Linked DNA regions of Homo sapiens: all the other regions are linked to region 3. The links are contacts of gene promoters, found by promoter capture Hi-C in human tissues and cell types (Jung and others, 2019). All regions are on one chromosome and are shown on one strand. Each heading gives the region's core, a stretch centred on a gene start or on the middle of the fragment in contact. The rest is flanking DNA. Distances are from core to core; before and after follow the strand shown. Region 1 overlaps LINC02885 (long intergenic non-protein coding RNA 2885). Region 2 has its middle 270 kb from the start of LL22NC03-13G6.2. Region 3 holds the start of SYN3 (synapsin III). Region 4 overlaps LINC02885 (long intergenic non-protein coding RNA 2885). Region 5 has its middle 310 kb from the start of LL22NC03-13G6.2.

The links. The method cuts DNA at HindIII sites, captures the fragments that hold promoters and counts their contacts. A contact is called where the count stands out against the background at its distance.
Region 1: a fragment that was not itself captured here is called in contact with the fragment with the promoter of SYN3 in region 3 in 1 of the 25 tissues and cell types used here (lymphoblastoid cells).
Region 2: a fragment that was not itself captured here is called in contact with the fragment with the promoter of SYN3 in region 3 in 1 of the 25 tissues and cell types used here (lymphoblastoid cells).
Region 4: a contact is called between a fragment that was not itself captured here and the fragment with the promoter of SYN3 in region 3, in 1 of the 25 tissues and cell types used here (lymphoblastoid cells).
Region 5: a fragment that was not itself captured here is called in contact with the fragment with the promoter of SYN3 in region 3 in 1 of the 25 tissues and cell types used here (lymphoblastoid cells).

The regions. Positions count from the first base shown.
Region 1 is chr22:34,948,572-34,951,271 of GRCh38, reverse strand. The region is part of intron 1 of LINC02885 (long intergenic non-protein coding RNA 2885); the gene reads left to right. The region is part of intron 1 of LOC105373015 (a long non-coding RNA gene); the gene reads left to right. Among named protein-coding and RNA genes, the nearest start is that of LINC02885, 48 kb to the left of the region's middle. RefSeq lists enhancers at 427-926, 927-1,428. The HindIII fragment of the contact is 4,068 bases long and covers 1-2,700 here.
Region 2 is chr22:34,477,299-34,479,998 of GRCh38, reverse strand. No RefSeq gene overlaps it. Among named protein-coding and RNA genes, the nearest start is that of LL22NC03-13G6.2, 270 kb to the right of the region's middle. The HindIII fragment of the contact is 5,381 bases long and covers 1-2,700 here.
Region 3 is chr22:33,057,080-33,059,779 of GRCh38, reverse strand. SYN3 (synapsin III) reads left to right here and starts at 1,399. Exons shown (of 14, transcript NM_003490.4): 1 at 1,399-1,488. The HindIII fragment of the contact is 13,516 bases long and covers 1-2,700 here.
Region 4 is chr22:34,927,949-34,930,648 of GRCh38, reverse strand. The region is part of intron 1 of LINC02885 (long intergenic non-protein coding RNA 2885); the gene reads left to right. Among named protein-coding and RNA genes, the nearest start is that of LINC02885, 69 kb to the left of the region's middle. The HindIII fragment of the contact is 6,649 bases long and covers 1-2,700 here.
Region 5 is chr22:34,519,434-34,522,133 of GRCh38, reverse strand. No RefSeq gene overlaps it. Among named protein-coding and RNA genes, the nearest start is that of LL22NC03-13G6.2, 310 kb to the right of the region's middle. The HindIII fragment of the contact is 4,840 bases long and covers 1-2,700 here.

The DNA of each region.
Region 1 (2,700 bases), core at 78-2,577, 1.9 Mb before region 3:
GCAGAGGAGGAACTCAGACCCAGATGCTGAATTCCAAAGCCTGAGCCTTTTCCAGGGTACCAAGCTGATATCTGCAGCTCAGAGGCAACTTTTTCATGGGAGGGAACGTGGGACTGGGGCTAGGGAGGGCTGGGTTAGTATCCCCGCTCTGTGACTTTGAAAGGTTCACTGAACCCCTCTGTGCCTCAGTTTTCCCGTTAGTATAATGAGGTCATACTCATTCCTAACCCATAAGCTTAAATTAAATGAGGGTTATATGTGGTGCTCCTGAAACTGTGCATGGCTGGTTAGGCACAAATGGAAAACGTCTTTCTCCATGGAGGAAAGTCACTGAGCACCTTTTCAGGGAACCTGCTCGCTGGGCAGATGGAGGAGCTGGTGATCAACACAGCCTTTTGAAGGGGTCGTCTTTTCCAACAGAACATGACACAGCCACAGGGAAAGTTGTTTTAGTTCCACTTAGTTTGATTTATTATTGATAATTCTGGAGATAAATTAGAATCATTAAAATAAGAGGCTGCAGTCTGCAGGCTGTTTTGAATTCCAGGGCTGTCTGCTTCGCATTTCCTGGGAACTGAGTGAGTACATTTGCATGTTTAGAGGGGGAGGGCCCTCAGAGAGCAGGAGGCAGAAAGTCCTGTCTGGAAAGTCTGGGCAATGAGAGAGGAAGCGCAGCTTGGAACTGTGTATTAGCCGCTGGGCCTGCCATAACAAGACACTATAGACTGGGTGGCTTAAATAACAGAAATTAATTTTCTCTTAATTCTTGGAGGCAAGAAGGTCTAAGATTAAGGTGCCAGCTGATTTGTTTCCTGGCGAGGGCCCTCTTCCTAGTTTGTAGATGGCCGCTTTGGCCTCACATGGCTCTTCCTCAGAGCATGCAGAGAGAGGAGGATGAGTGAGCTCTCTGGTGTCTCTTCTTTTTATTTTTTGAGTCGAAGTCTCACTGTGTCGCCCAGGCTGGAGTGCAATGGTGTGATCTCGGCTCACTGCAACCTCCACCTCCCAGTTCCAGTCACTATCCTGCCTCAGCCTCCCGAGTAGCTGGGATTACAGGCAAATGCCATCATGCCCGGCTAATTTTTGTAGTTTTGTAGAGATGGGTTTTCACTATGTTGGTCAGGCTGGTCTTGAACTCCTGACCTTAGGTGATCCACCTGTCTTGGCCTCCCAAAGTGCTGGGATTACAGGCATGAGCCACTGTGCCTGGCCCAGGTGTCTCTTCTTATAAGGACACCAGTCCTATTGGATCCAAACCCCACTCTTATCACCTCATTCAACCTTAATTACCCCCTAAAAGCCCCATCTCCAAATACAGCCTCATTGGGGGTTAGGGCTGCAACATATGGATTTGGGGGAGGGGAGGACACAGTTCAGTCCATAGTGCACTGCTTTCCACTCCTCCAGGAGGCCTGCCATGATTGTTAGTACTGTAACAAGAACAGTTGCCAGCACCTTACTTTCTGTGTCCCTACAGAAGCATAATGAGGTTAGGAACCTCATTACTATTCCTTTCGAAGATGAGAAAACTGAGGCACACAAAAGGAAAGTCACTGACCTAAGGTCCTCACCTGGTGAGGGGCGGAGCCAGGTCAGGGACCTTGTGCCTGGGACACCTTGTAGTGCTCATTGTACCTCGTCAGTCTTTCTCCCAGGGTGGCAGAGTGGGAAAAGTACTGCTAGAAATAAAATTTAGATTCAGAGGGTACATGTGCAGATTTGCTACATGGATATATTGTGTGATGCTGAGGTTTGGGCTTGAATTGAACCCATCACCCAAATAGTGAGCATAGTAACCAGTAGGTAGTTTTTCAACCCTTGCCCGCTTCAGCCCTCCTCCATTTGGAGTCTGTAGTGTCTATTGTTCTTGTCTTTATATCCATGTGTACACAATATTTAGCTCCCACTTCTAAGTGAGAACATGTGGCATTTGGTTTTCTGTGTCTGCATTCATTCAATTAGGATAATGGCCTCAATCTGCATCCATGTTGCTGCAAAGGACATGAGCTCATTCTTTTTTATGGCTGTACAGTATTCCATGGTGTATATGTACCACATTTTCTTTATCTAGTCCACCATTGATGAGCACCTAGGTTGATTCCATGTCTTTGCTATTGTGAATAGAGCACCAATTTTTGAATCAACCTTGGACTAAATACTACCTCTATCACTTAGAAGTTGTGAGACCATCAGCAAATTATTTGCTGTCTATCAGAGCAGTTGCATCACTTGGAAGGGGATAACAGGACTGCACTCACATGGTGTTCTTGAGGTCAAATAAAATGAGGTATGACATGTGCTTAGTATGAGGCCTGGAACATGGGTGCTATTCAGTCAGTGCAATCATTTCCACTTTGGGTGCTGTGCATGTAAGATCTACAGGAGTTCAGGAGGCCTTTGAACTTGCCCATTGAACTTGCAGAGGTGTGGTCTCATCTCTTACCCAAGTATTCAGGACCTTCCCCCAACTCCAACCCTCTCCCCCGATCTTACAAAGTGATCCCAGGAGAAGATGTGACAAAAATCATTTATGTTAAAGTGTAAATGACGAAGAAGGATTTTTGAGGTCATCTTTGATGATTTTAGAAAGAAATTATGAATTATTTTTTTTTTGAGATGCAGTTTCACTGTTGTCACCCAGGCTGGAGTGTGGTGTCACGATATCGGCTCACTGCAACCTCCGCCTCCCGAGTTCAAGCA
Region 2 (2,700 bases), core at 85-2,584, 1.4 Mb before region 3:
GAACCATGTTCTTATTATTATGTAAAAGATTTCATCTGTAATTTCTATGCATTTGGAACATGGAACAATGGTTTAGAACATGCTCATGTCTCCAAATGGACCTGGGGGAGTCTTTGTGTGATTCAATTAACCAGGCCTGTATGGTTCTTACCACGCTCCTCCATTGATAGATAGATAGATAGATAGATAGATAGATAGACAGATACAAACAAAGACAGATAATCAGAAAGTAACTATGCAAATCTTACTATGTTTGGTCTTTATAACATCCCTGTGTGGTTGATGGCATTATTATTCTCATTTTGCAGAAGAGGCTCCAATTTGACATATTCAGAATGCCCATGTGAAATTGGAACCTTATTTCATCCTGACTGCCGGTACCATTAAATGTGACATATGTATATATTATGTCGTTATGAGGAAGAGACCACACATGTCTGCAAATGCACACATGTGCACGCACATAAACACTCACACACACACTACATTTTTGGTCCATGCTACTAATCAAATGCCAAAAGGATCTTTGCTTAGGGCTTTGTCAACACTATCATTTACTTTTCATCTATTTAAATCACAGGAGAATTGTTCACTTGCCTTTCCCACTTGGATTGATGGGAGAAGTGAAGGCCTTTTCCGTGATCTCAGCCTATTAGCTGGCTACAGAAAGGGTTCCCTTTGCCCTTTCCCACTCCTTTTTCTAGGAGCCAAGGGATGTGTAGACGGGGGAGCCCTGGATCAGACAGTAATGGGCTGTAATGGAGTTCTCAGTTTGTTTTAACTGCCTGGGTCTGATTGCCTGTGAAAATGGTTTGGTTTTATGCTCTTTGTGAGCCTGCGTCAAGCCCCATTTGAAATAACAAGTGCCTTCCTTTCTCTTGCATCCGCTCAAAGTAGGAATGAGTGGAGGAAGGAGGAAGAGGGAGCGGAAGCGTCTCAGAGACTATGAGTGATCATGTACAGAGGTGAGTGTGCAGATGAGAGAAGCAGTGCTGAAAAAATGCCCTCAGGCTACCTGCAGGTTTGGCAGATGACAGGTGGAGTACACATCTGGTATCTTCCAAACTTCTCCTCCAACCAGCAGGTCTCCTGTGAAGCCTGGTCAGGAAGGCATTGGATGATATCTGACCCATTTCTGTGGACAAGGAAAATGCCCTCATGAGGGAAAAGTAGGAGAGGTCAGAGATTAGACTCACTACCCAGGGACACTATAGAGCCCAATGCAAAGCTTCATACCACCTCATCCTGGCTGCTTCTTACAGAGGCAGCTCTCAGAGCTATGATCTCAGTTCAGCAGACACCAGCCACATGTAGCTAATGAGCACCTGAAATGTAGCTGAATTGAAACATAAACCTGATTTTGAGGGCTTAATGTGATAAAAGAATACAAGATATTTCATTAATATTTTATATTGATTCCATGTTGAAGTGATATTTTGAATATATCTGGTTAAATAACATTATTATTAAAATTAACTTCACCTGTTTGTATTTGTATTAGTCCATTTTCATACCGCTATGAAGACCTGCCTGAGACTGGGTAATTCATAAAGAAAAGAGGTTTAATTGACTCACAGTTCAATATGACTGATGAGGCCTCAGGAAACTTACAATCATGGTGGAAGGTGAAGGGGAAGCAAGGCATCTTTTTCACAGGGTGACAGGAAGAAGTGCCGAGCAAAGGGGGAAAAGCCCCTTATAAAACCATCAGATCTCATGAGAACTCACTCACTCTCACAAGAACAACATGGGGGTAACCGCCCCCATGTTTCAATTACTTGCCACTGGGTCCCTCCCTTGACACGTGGGGATGATGGGAACTACAATTCAAGATGAGATTTGGGTGGGGACACAGCCAAACCATATCAGTATTTTATTGTGACTACTAGAAAATTTACATGTATAGCTCACATTATATTTCTATCGGACACTGCTGGTATAAAGACTCCCAAATCCAGCATCCTCTCTTGGGGGCAGCATAGATAAAACAGGCTGGGCATTCTGTGAAATTTTACAGACTACAGCCTCTCACCTGTCTCTCACCCACTTTGAGAAAGCATGTTAGACTGAAAAGGAGTGAAAGCTATATTATCATAGACATTACATTAAAACTAATCTAATGTTTCAGAAAAGTGAATTTTTCAACACTGTTTATTATTTTTGTTGTTTAATTAAGAACAAATTCTTTATGAAATACAGGCCTCAGTGAGGCCCCTCCATAGCTGTTGAGATCTAAGTTAATTTTGCCTTGATGACTTCTAATCCCATCACCCATGGGAGTCCCCAGTTCCTGCCAGTATTGAAGGTGGTATAGGCAGGTTAAGAGTTACGTTCTTCTTGTCTGTTGTGCCCCTTGGCCCCTGATTTTCTTATCTATCCACCCATCAACAGCAAGTAGAACAGTCACCATTCTTGAGGTTCTACCACAAAGAATCTATACACCAAGCATTTATGACTTTAGAAGACTTTGGTGAAGATTAGAGCAAAGGGGGCTTCCTGGAGAAAAGCTACATCAAGTTGTACAGACTTCTGTCATTTGACTGGTGTATCCGTCAGTATTTGCTAGGCCTGCCTCACCAGGGTGTTGGGAGGCATGAGTTTAGAAATATATGAGCTATAAAACCCCCTACAAATTTAAGGTCCCAGACAGGGTTGGCCAGAATGAAAAATATTATATCTCTCAGCTATGCAGGAGTTGTC
Region 3 (2,700 bases), core at 150-2,649:
CCTTCATGCTGAGTCACCCCATGGCACAAGGCAGAACAAGAGAGCAGCAGAGGGGTGGGGAGAGGGCCACTCCTGGCATTAATGGAATCACCTCTTAAAGGTCCCACCTCTCAACACTGTTGCATTGGGGATTAAGTTTCCAAGATATGAACTTTGGGGAACATATTTAAACCATAGCATCCCCTAAATCCAGCCTAATCCATCATCAAGCCTTCCTGTGCTACTTTTGACACACATTGCAGGAGGTCCACCTTTTCCGTATCTTGCTGTCACCACCCTGGTCTTCATCACCATAATCTCTTGCCTGAATTGTTCCCTCCAGATTGATATGACAAAGCCCTGACCCTCACGGTGGCCTACAAGGTTCTGGGTGATGGTGATTCCACACTAGTCTACCTCTCTGGCTGTAACCCACTCTCCCCTTGCTCACCTCACTCAGCCACCCTGGGGGCCAGTTCCAGCTTCAGAACCATGCATCGGCCGACCCCTCTGTCAGCAATGCTCTTGCTTCAGCCCTGGAATCGTTTTTGTCCTCCAAGTATCCAATATCACAAGCGGCCCGGAGACCACCCTAGGTATAGCAGTCCTAGACCCCTTTCTTTTTCTTTTCTTTTTTTTGGAGACGGCATCTAGCTCTGTTGCCCAGGCTGGAGTGCAGTGGCTCTAACTCGGCTTACTGTAACTTCCACCTCCCGGGTCCAAGCAATTCTGCCTCAGCCTCCCGAGTAGCTAGGACTACAGGTGAGGGCCACCATGCCCAGCTAATTTTTGTATTTTTAGTAGAGACGGGGTTTTATCATCTTGGCCAGGCTGGTCTTGAACTCCCGACCTCGTGATTCACCTGCCTCGGCCTCCCAAAGTGCTGGGATTACAGGCGTGAGCCACAGGCACCCAGCCGACATTCTCTTGTTTTTTTCGTTTGTTGTATATAACCTACCCCCACCTCCACCCCATGCAAAGTCCACGAGGACGATAGACTTTGTCTTGTTCCCTGTTGCATCCTGGCCCTAGGGCCTAGCCCACAACCTGGGACATTTCCTGACAAGGGGCCCTGGTTTCTCTGAGGTGCCACCTGAGGTCCGGGAGGTCAGCTGACTTTCCCAAAGGTGGATTCCAAGGACACTGCATTCTTCGCACTCCCCGAGGGGCGTCTAGACACTCCTGGGACCCAGAATTATTAGCTAACTGGGCTCCTGAGTCCGGTGAGAGCTCAGAGTCTAGAAGCAACTTTCCCTGCCTGGAGAGGTGAACCCAGCAAGGCGTTGGGGAGAGGCGTGGGCGAGGGAGTGGGCGCGGGTGGGCGGGGCCGTCCGGGGGCCTCGTTGCCCGAGCCAATGGGGCGCCGCGGCGCGGGGAGGCCGGGCCGCCGGGCGGGGGCGCTCGCGCGCGTTGAGGGGCAGAGGCTGAGCTCCCGGGACCCGGAGCGGATCGACTGGCGGGCGCCGCGCCGAGGCACCACCGGGCGCCGAGTTCCTGGCGGCTCGCACGGTAAGCGGCGCGGCGCCGCAAAGTAGACTTTGTGGGGTTTCTGACAGCCGGGAGACCCCACCTCGAGCGGGGGCTGCTGGTGCGTTCTCGCGTCGGGCTGCGTCCCCTGGAGCTCCGGCTCTGTGTCCGCGGGATGCGGGCGCACGGAGGGGCAGGGAGGGAGGCAAGGAGCCGCGCACCACGGTGTCTCCCCAGGCTGCCGCTGCCGGGGCCCTGGGCCGGTCCCTGGGACAGACAGATCGGCGTGCGGGGGCCGTCTGCCGGGCCCGGGAGCCGGGGGCGCGCAAGACTGTGGATCCTAAGACTGCCTCCACCCAGCGCCCGGCCCGGGGAAGAGCTTGCGGGAAACCAGGAACCGCAGCGGCCGGACCTCTGCTCTGCGCCGGCTCCTAGGACCTGCCTTAGGTCCCCAGACCCCTCATGACCTGTTGCCTTGGGTTTGGGAGGTCAGGTTTGTCATGCCATTTCCGATTTCCAGTCATCCTGGGGGCAGGATGAAATTTCAGAGTGGTTTCCTGGCCAAGCTAGAAGCAGAGAATAGCTATGGATACAGCACCTCGTGTATCTATCCAGCACTTACTTGGCTTTTTCTGAGTGCCAGGAACTGTGCCAAGCCCTAGCAGCATGAAGAATGGCCTTTGGGGAGCTTCTGGGGCTAAGAGGGACAGTAGGAGGAGCAATTGCAGTGCAGGGTAGTGCGGAAGACTCGAGATGGAGAAGAGGACGGTGAGGAAGCCAGGAAGGTTTCAGAGAGGAGGTGAGCATTGACTGGAAGTCGGAGGTTTTGCCAGGCTGAAAAGTGTGTTGGGACTGTGAGTTGATAGGGAGCAGGAATTCCAGGTGGGTTTTCTTGTGTAAAGGTAAAGAAACTGAAAAGGTCCGGTGTCCTGACCTAGCACATCAGATAATTCTACAGCAGATAATGGAGTAGGACCGGGTCTTGCTGTAGGTAGGAAATGAGCTCTCGACATGGCAGGAAGCTAAAACCTGCACAGACCTTAAAGTGCAGCCTTAGAATATTTAGAATTTTATCCTGGAATGAAGGAGGGCCGTGGAAGAATTCTGATCAGTGATCAGGTCCCTCTGGCAGCTCTGGGGACAATGGATGGAGGCCGGAGCATCAGAAAGCTGGTAAGTTGTAGTTGTTTTCTGGTCCTTGGCTGCAAATACTCTTCCCTGCTTAAGGGAGCCCCCTCTGCCCGGGAGCCCTGC
Region 4 (2,700 bases), core at 176-2,675, 1.9 Mb before region 3:
GGAGTCTCACTGTGTCACCCAGGCTGGAGTACAGTGGCGCGTGATCTCAGCTCACTGTAACCTCCGCCTCCATTCAAGCAATTCTGCCTCAGCCTCCTGAGTAGCTGGGATTACAGGCATGTAACACCACACCCCGCTAATTTTTGTATTTTTAATAGAGACAGGGTTTCACCAAGTTGGCCAGGCTGGTCTTGAACTCCTGACCTTGTGATGCCCCCTCCTCGGCCTCCCAAAGTGCTAGGATTACAGGCTTAAGCCATTGTGCTGAGCCCAAAGTCTCTTTTCACAAGCGTTCCCTCCACAAGGTGCATATTTTGATATATTTTGCCCACTGTATATGATAGCATGTAAAGATAGCATGTTATTATTAGCTTCATCTTCTAGATAAGGAAATTGAGGCAAAGGGAAATCCATTCATTTGGCCCAGGCTTCACAAGTGGGAGGTGGTGGACCCCATGGCCACCGTGTATGTCTGTGCATGTTTTTCACAGCTCAATGATGCCTGGCCCAGGAGTCTGAAATCCGGCCACCAATCTGGTTAACAAGTCATGGATGCTAGTATGAGGCTGAGTTTGTTGGGAGGAACAAATCCTTTATCAAATTCATTAAAAGATATGACCTTTTCACCAAGCTGTGGGCCCACTGGACTTTTATCTGTCTAGAGGAGTTGCCTTATTTGATTTGCACCAAAACTTGGTATAGGACAGTGGCTCCTGAAGAACCAGTATTCAAACCCTGCAGCCTGATTTCAGAATCTGTTCTCTGACCTCACAAAGCAGGGGAAAACAGTATCTGTTCCTTGTCAAAGGCTCCTTTTACTAGTGTTTCCTCCACAAAGTACACATTTTGGTATATTTTGCCCATTGTTTATGATAGCATGTAAAGAACCATTATTTCTGTGGCCTCAACAAACGGGGGTTTGCCTTTTTCATGCAATAAGGAGTCCAGAGTTGGTGGTTTAGAGTACGTACAAAGTCTTTAAGAACCCATATTCTGGGCCGGGTGCGGTGGCTCATGCCTGTAATCCCAGTACTTCAGGAGGCCGAGGCGGGTGGATCACCTGAGGTCAGGAGTTCAAGACCAGCCTGGCCAACATGGTAAAACCCCATCTCTACTAAAAATACAAAAGATTAGCTGGGCGTGATGGCAGGCGCCTGTAATCCCAGCTACTTGGGAGACTGAGGCAGGGGAATCGCTCAAATCCGGGAGGTGGAAGTTGCAGTGAGCCGAGATCGCACCACTGCACTTCAGCCTGGGCAACAAGAGCGAAACTCCATCTCAAAAGAAAAGAAAACAAAACAAAACAAAACAAAAAAACCCATGTTCCATCCACCACCCTGACTTTGTTAGGATGTGGCTTTCAACCTCAAGATGTCTGCTGCACAGTCAAACTTCACATGTGAATTTCAGGCAGAAAACATTGGGAAAAAAGCCAAGAAAAAAAAAGGAGTGATCCAGTTAAGTTGGTCTTTTTATATGAGGAAAATTATAGCTCTCTCAGAAGCTCTACTCTTAAATCTTATTGTCTAGAACTGGGTCCCATGGCCACTCCTAGTTGCAGAGGAGTTTGGGAAGTATTTTTAACTAGGCATGTGACTACAGGCTAGACAAAGCTGGGATTCTCTTAGCAAGAAAAAAAGGAGACTAGATCTCATGGACTGGTCACATCCAACAAGTAAACTGCATGTATAAAGTAATATTTAACTTGTTCTTCCGCTTTTATGAGTCAAAAACACAACTTCTTAGAGGAGCATTTTTGTTGACAAGTAATATCTAGATCTATTGCCCGCTACCTTTAGGAGACTGTGCAGTATACACAGGGTCAGGAAGCTGAGCTGCTCTTCCACAGTCGTCTTCACACTCACAAGTTCCAGCTTCTGCTTGGGTCCAGTGCTGCCTTCCCTCCCATGTCCTTGACACCTGGTTGGTCCCCAGTCACCATATCTCCTTCCTACCTCTTTGGCTTTGCCATACTTGGGCTTTATAGCTCCTGACTCCTCCACACTTTCTACCACAAAGATACTAGGGGCCGGGATTGCAGCCAGAGGTCCTGCCCACTGCCCGCTAGCTGCTGTGCCTGCTGCACAGCCAGCTCTCCAGGTCCAGATGCAGGGCCTAGGGCCCTGGCTTGTTCCCAGCCCACCTATTTGATCATTGGCCATGGAAGATATGACAGCACAGCCTGTTATAGTTCCAGCCGAAAGTAGTCCCCTGGGTGTTTTAGCTAACCTGGGCAGTCTCGTTGAGAGTAAATATAGAGTTTTCATTAGGCCTTTGGAAATACTGGAAAATGGCTCATAGTTCTATATAATCCTTTTTAGCCCAGTGCTGTCTAATAGAACTTTCCATGATGGGGAAAATGCTCTCTCTATCTGTGCTATCCAATACAGTGGCTACTGGCCACATGAGATTACTGAGAGCTTTAAACGTGGCTAGTGCAATTGAGGAGCTCAGTTTCTAATTTTATTTTATTTTCATTAATTTAAATTTATAATTAAATAGCCACATGAGGCTAGCAACTACCATACCGGATAGCACATCTCTAGAGGTTTTCTCTACGGACTCAAGGTCCTAAGAAGTGTAGGAAATGTGTAGGAAGCCAGCTACCTACACTGAGGTAGCTGGCTGAATCAAAAGACAAAACAAGGATGAAAACTGCACATACGAAATAATGAGATGGTAAATAGGCCAAAGGGCATC
Region 5 (2,700 bases), core at 103-2,602, 1.5 Mb before region 3:
CCCTTAGCAAGCCAGGGTAGCATAACCTTGAGGGCTTATGACTCCAGGGTCTTACTTCTCCTTCTCATAAGTGGTGAGATTACTGGGCCCAGGTGTCCCCCACCAGAATCTTTAAAATATTCTCCCCATGATACTTGAAATTGTCTTTTTGGAATTTAATTATTTTAGGCAAGCATTTGAATTCTTCTAGAATATAAATTCCTACTGATCCTCAGGCATTTAATTTTTCATCACTCAGGCGGTCTTTATTGTAAATGATGGTGTATTAGGGTTCTCCAGAGGGACAGAACTAATAGGTTATATATGTAGAGGAGTTTACTAAGGAGTATTAAACTCACACAATCACAAGGTTCCAAAATAGGCCATCTGCAACCTGAAGAGTAAGGAAGCCAGTCTAAGTCCCAAAGCTGAAGAACTTAAAGTCCGACGTTCAAGGGCAGGAAGCATCCAGCATGGGAGAAAGATGTAGGCTGGGAGGCTAAGCCAGTCTAGTATTTTCATGTTCTTCTGCCTGCTTTTATCCTAGCCATGCTGGCAGCTAATTAGATTGTGCCCACCCAGATTAACAGTGGGTCTGCCTTTCCCAGCCCACTGACTCATATGTTAATCTCCTTTGGCAACACCCTCACAGACACAGCCAGGATCAATACTTTGCATCCTTCAATCCAATCAAGTTGACACTCAGTATTAACCAACACAAGTTCACCCCTTGTCAATTTGAACCCATATACATCTCCTGAGATCATACATAATCTTCAAATAAAGACAATAATAAGGTCATAATTACACCTAACATAATACAACTACCCTTTGTACAACCAGAAATGCATCAATTCCCAACCCAAATGGTATTAAAGTTAACAACACTTAAATGCTGACATAAAGTCAATAAATCTTATGTCACATGACAAAGGAAAAAGGAAATAAAATGAAGGAATTTTCTTAGTACAAGTGTATACATACACAAACATGTTTTTAACAAAAGAAGAAGGAAATGCTCTTGACAATTACAGTCCTCGTTTCTGCAAGTGGTCACATAGTCATAGCTGGTATTGATGACTACCTTCTTCTACTACCCATTTTGTATTCCCTTTGCCTTCAGCAAGCACCTCAGCAGGTCATGGTTTTTTTCCCGGTGGAGTGACCCAAACCTTCATTCCTGAAGGGTCTGGGCCATTTGTAGTCCTTCCTGGATTGGGCTCCTGTAGTTTCCCATTGACCTTAATTACAGGGCATGGTAAGATTAAGAGATGCCCCAAGAGATTTCCTGTATTGCACACATACTGTTCCTTATTTCCACTGTGGAGCAGTAGACTGATTTCATCTTGATAGTCTGGGTCAATCACCCCAGCCAACACTGTAACTCCCTTCTTAGCCTGTTGACTTAAGGGTAGGAGAAGCCCGAAGTGTCCGGGTGGCAATCTTAACTTCCACTCTAATGGAATAGTTGTATGTTTCCTTGTGGCAGTGTTCCTCCTCTGGAACTAAGACCTCTAGGCCAGCAGAACATTATGTCACAGGAACAGGGAGCAAAAATTTTGCTAGTGGATCACTAGGGGTGATGGGGTACATGGTAAGACGAGTGAATTCCATAAGCATGAATTCATGAGCCCACTGACACACATCTTTAGCCATAAAGTGAGTGCCTTGGTCAAAGGCAATGCTGTGTGGAATACCATGATGGTACATAAGGCATTCCATAAGTCCATGGATGGTAGTCTTGGCAGAAGCATTGCATGCAGGACAGGCAAACACATATCTGGACTATTCCAGTGAGGACAAACCTCTGCCCTTTCCATGATGGAAGAGGTCCAATATAATCAACCTGCCACCAAGTAGCTAGCTTATCACCCAGAGGAATGGTGTCATATTGGGGGCTCAGTGTTGGTCTTTGCTGCTGGCAAATTGGGCATTCAGCAGTGGCACTAGCCAGGTCAGCCTTGGTGAGTGGAAGTCGATGTTGCTCAACCCACGCATAACCACCATCCCTGCCACCATGGCCACTTTGTTCATGGGCCCACTGGGCAATGATGGAGGTGGCTGGGGAAAGAGGCTGAGTGGTGTCCACAGAATAAGTCATCCTATCCACTTGATTTTGTGTTGTTGTTGTTGACGACGTTGTTGTTGGTTGTTATTGTTGAGACTGAGTCTCGCTCTGTTGCCCAGGCTGGAGTGCAGTGGTGTGATCTTGGCTCAATGCAACCTCTGCCTCCTGGGTTCAAGTGATTCTCCTGCCTCAGCCTCCTGAGTAGCCGGGATTACAGGCACCTGACACCATGCCCGGCTCATTTTTTGTATTTTTAGTAAAGACAGGGTTTCACCATGTTGGCCAGGCTGGTCTCAAACTCCTGACCTGGTGATCCACCTGCCTTGGACTCCCAAAGTGCTGGGATTACAGGCGTGAGCCACTGTGCACTGCCTATCCACTTGATTTTTTAAATTCTCCTCTGCTGAGGTCACCTTTTGGTGAGTACTCACATGGGATACAAATATCTTCACAGTTTTTGACCACTCAGAGAGGTCTGTCCACATACCTCTTCCCCAAATTTCTTTGTCACCAATTTTCCAATCATGGTTCCTCCAAGTCCCTGATTGTCCAGCCAAACCATTGGCTACAAGTTCCACGAATCAGTATATAATTATATATCTGGCCATGTCTCCTTCCATGCACAGCACACAACCAGGTGCACTGCTCAAAGA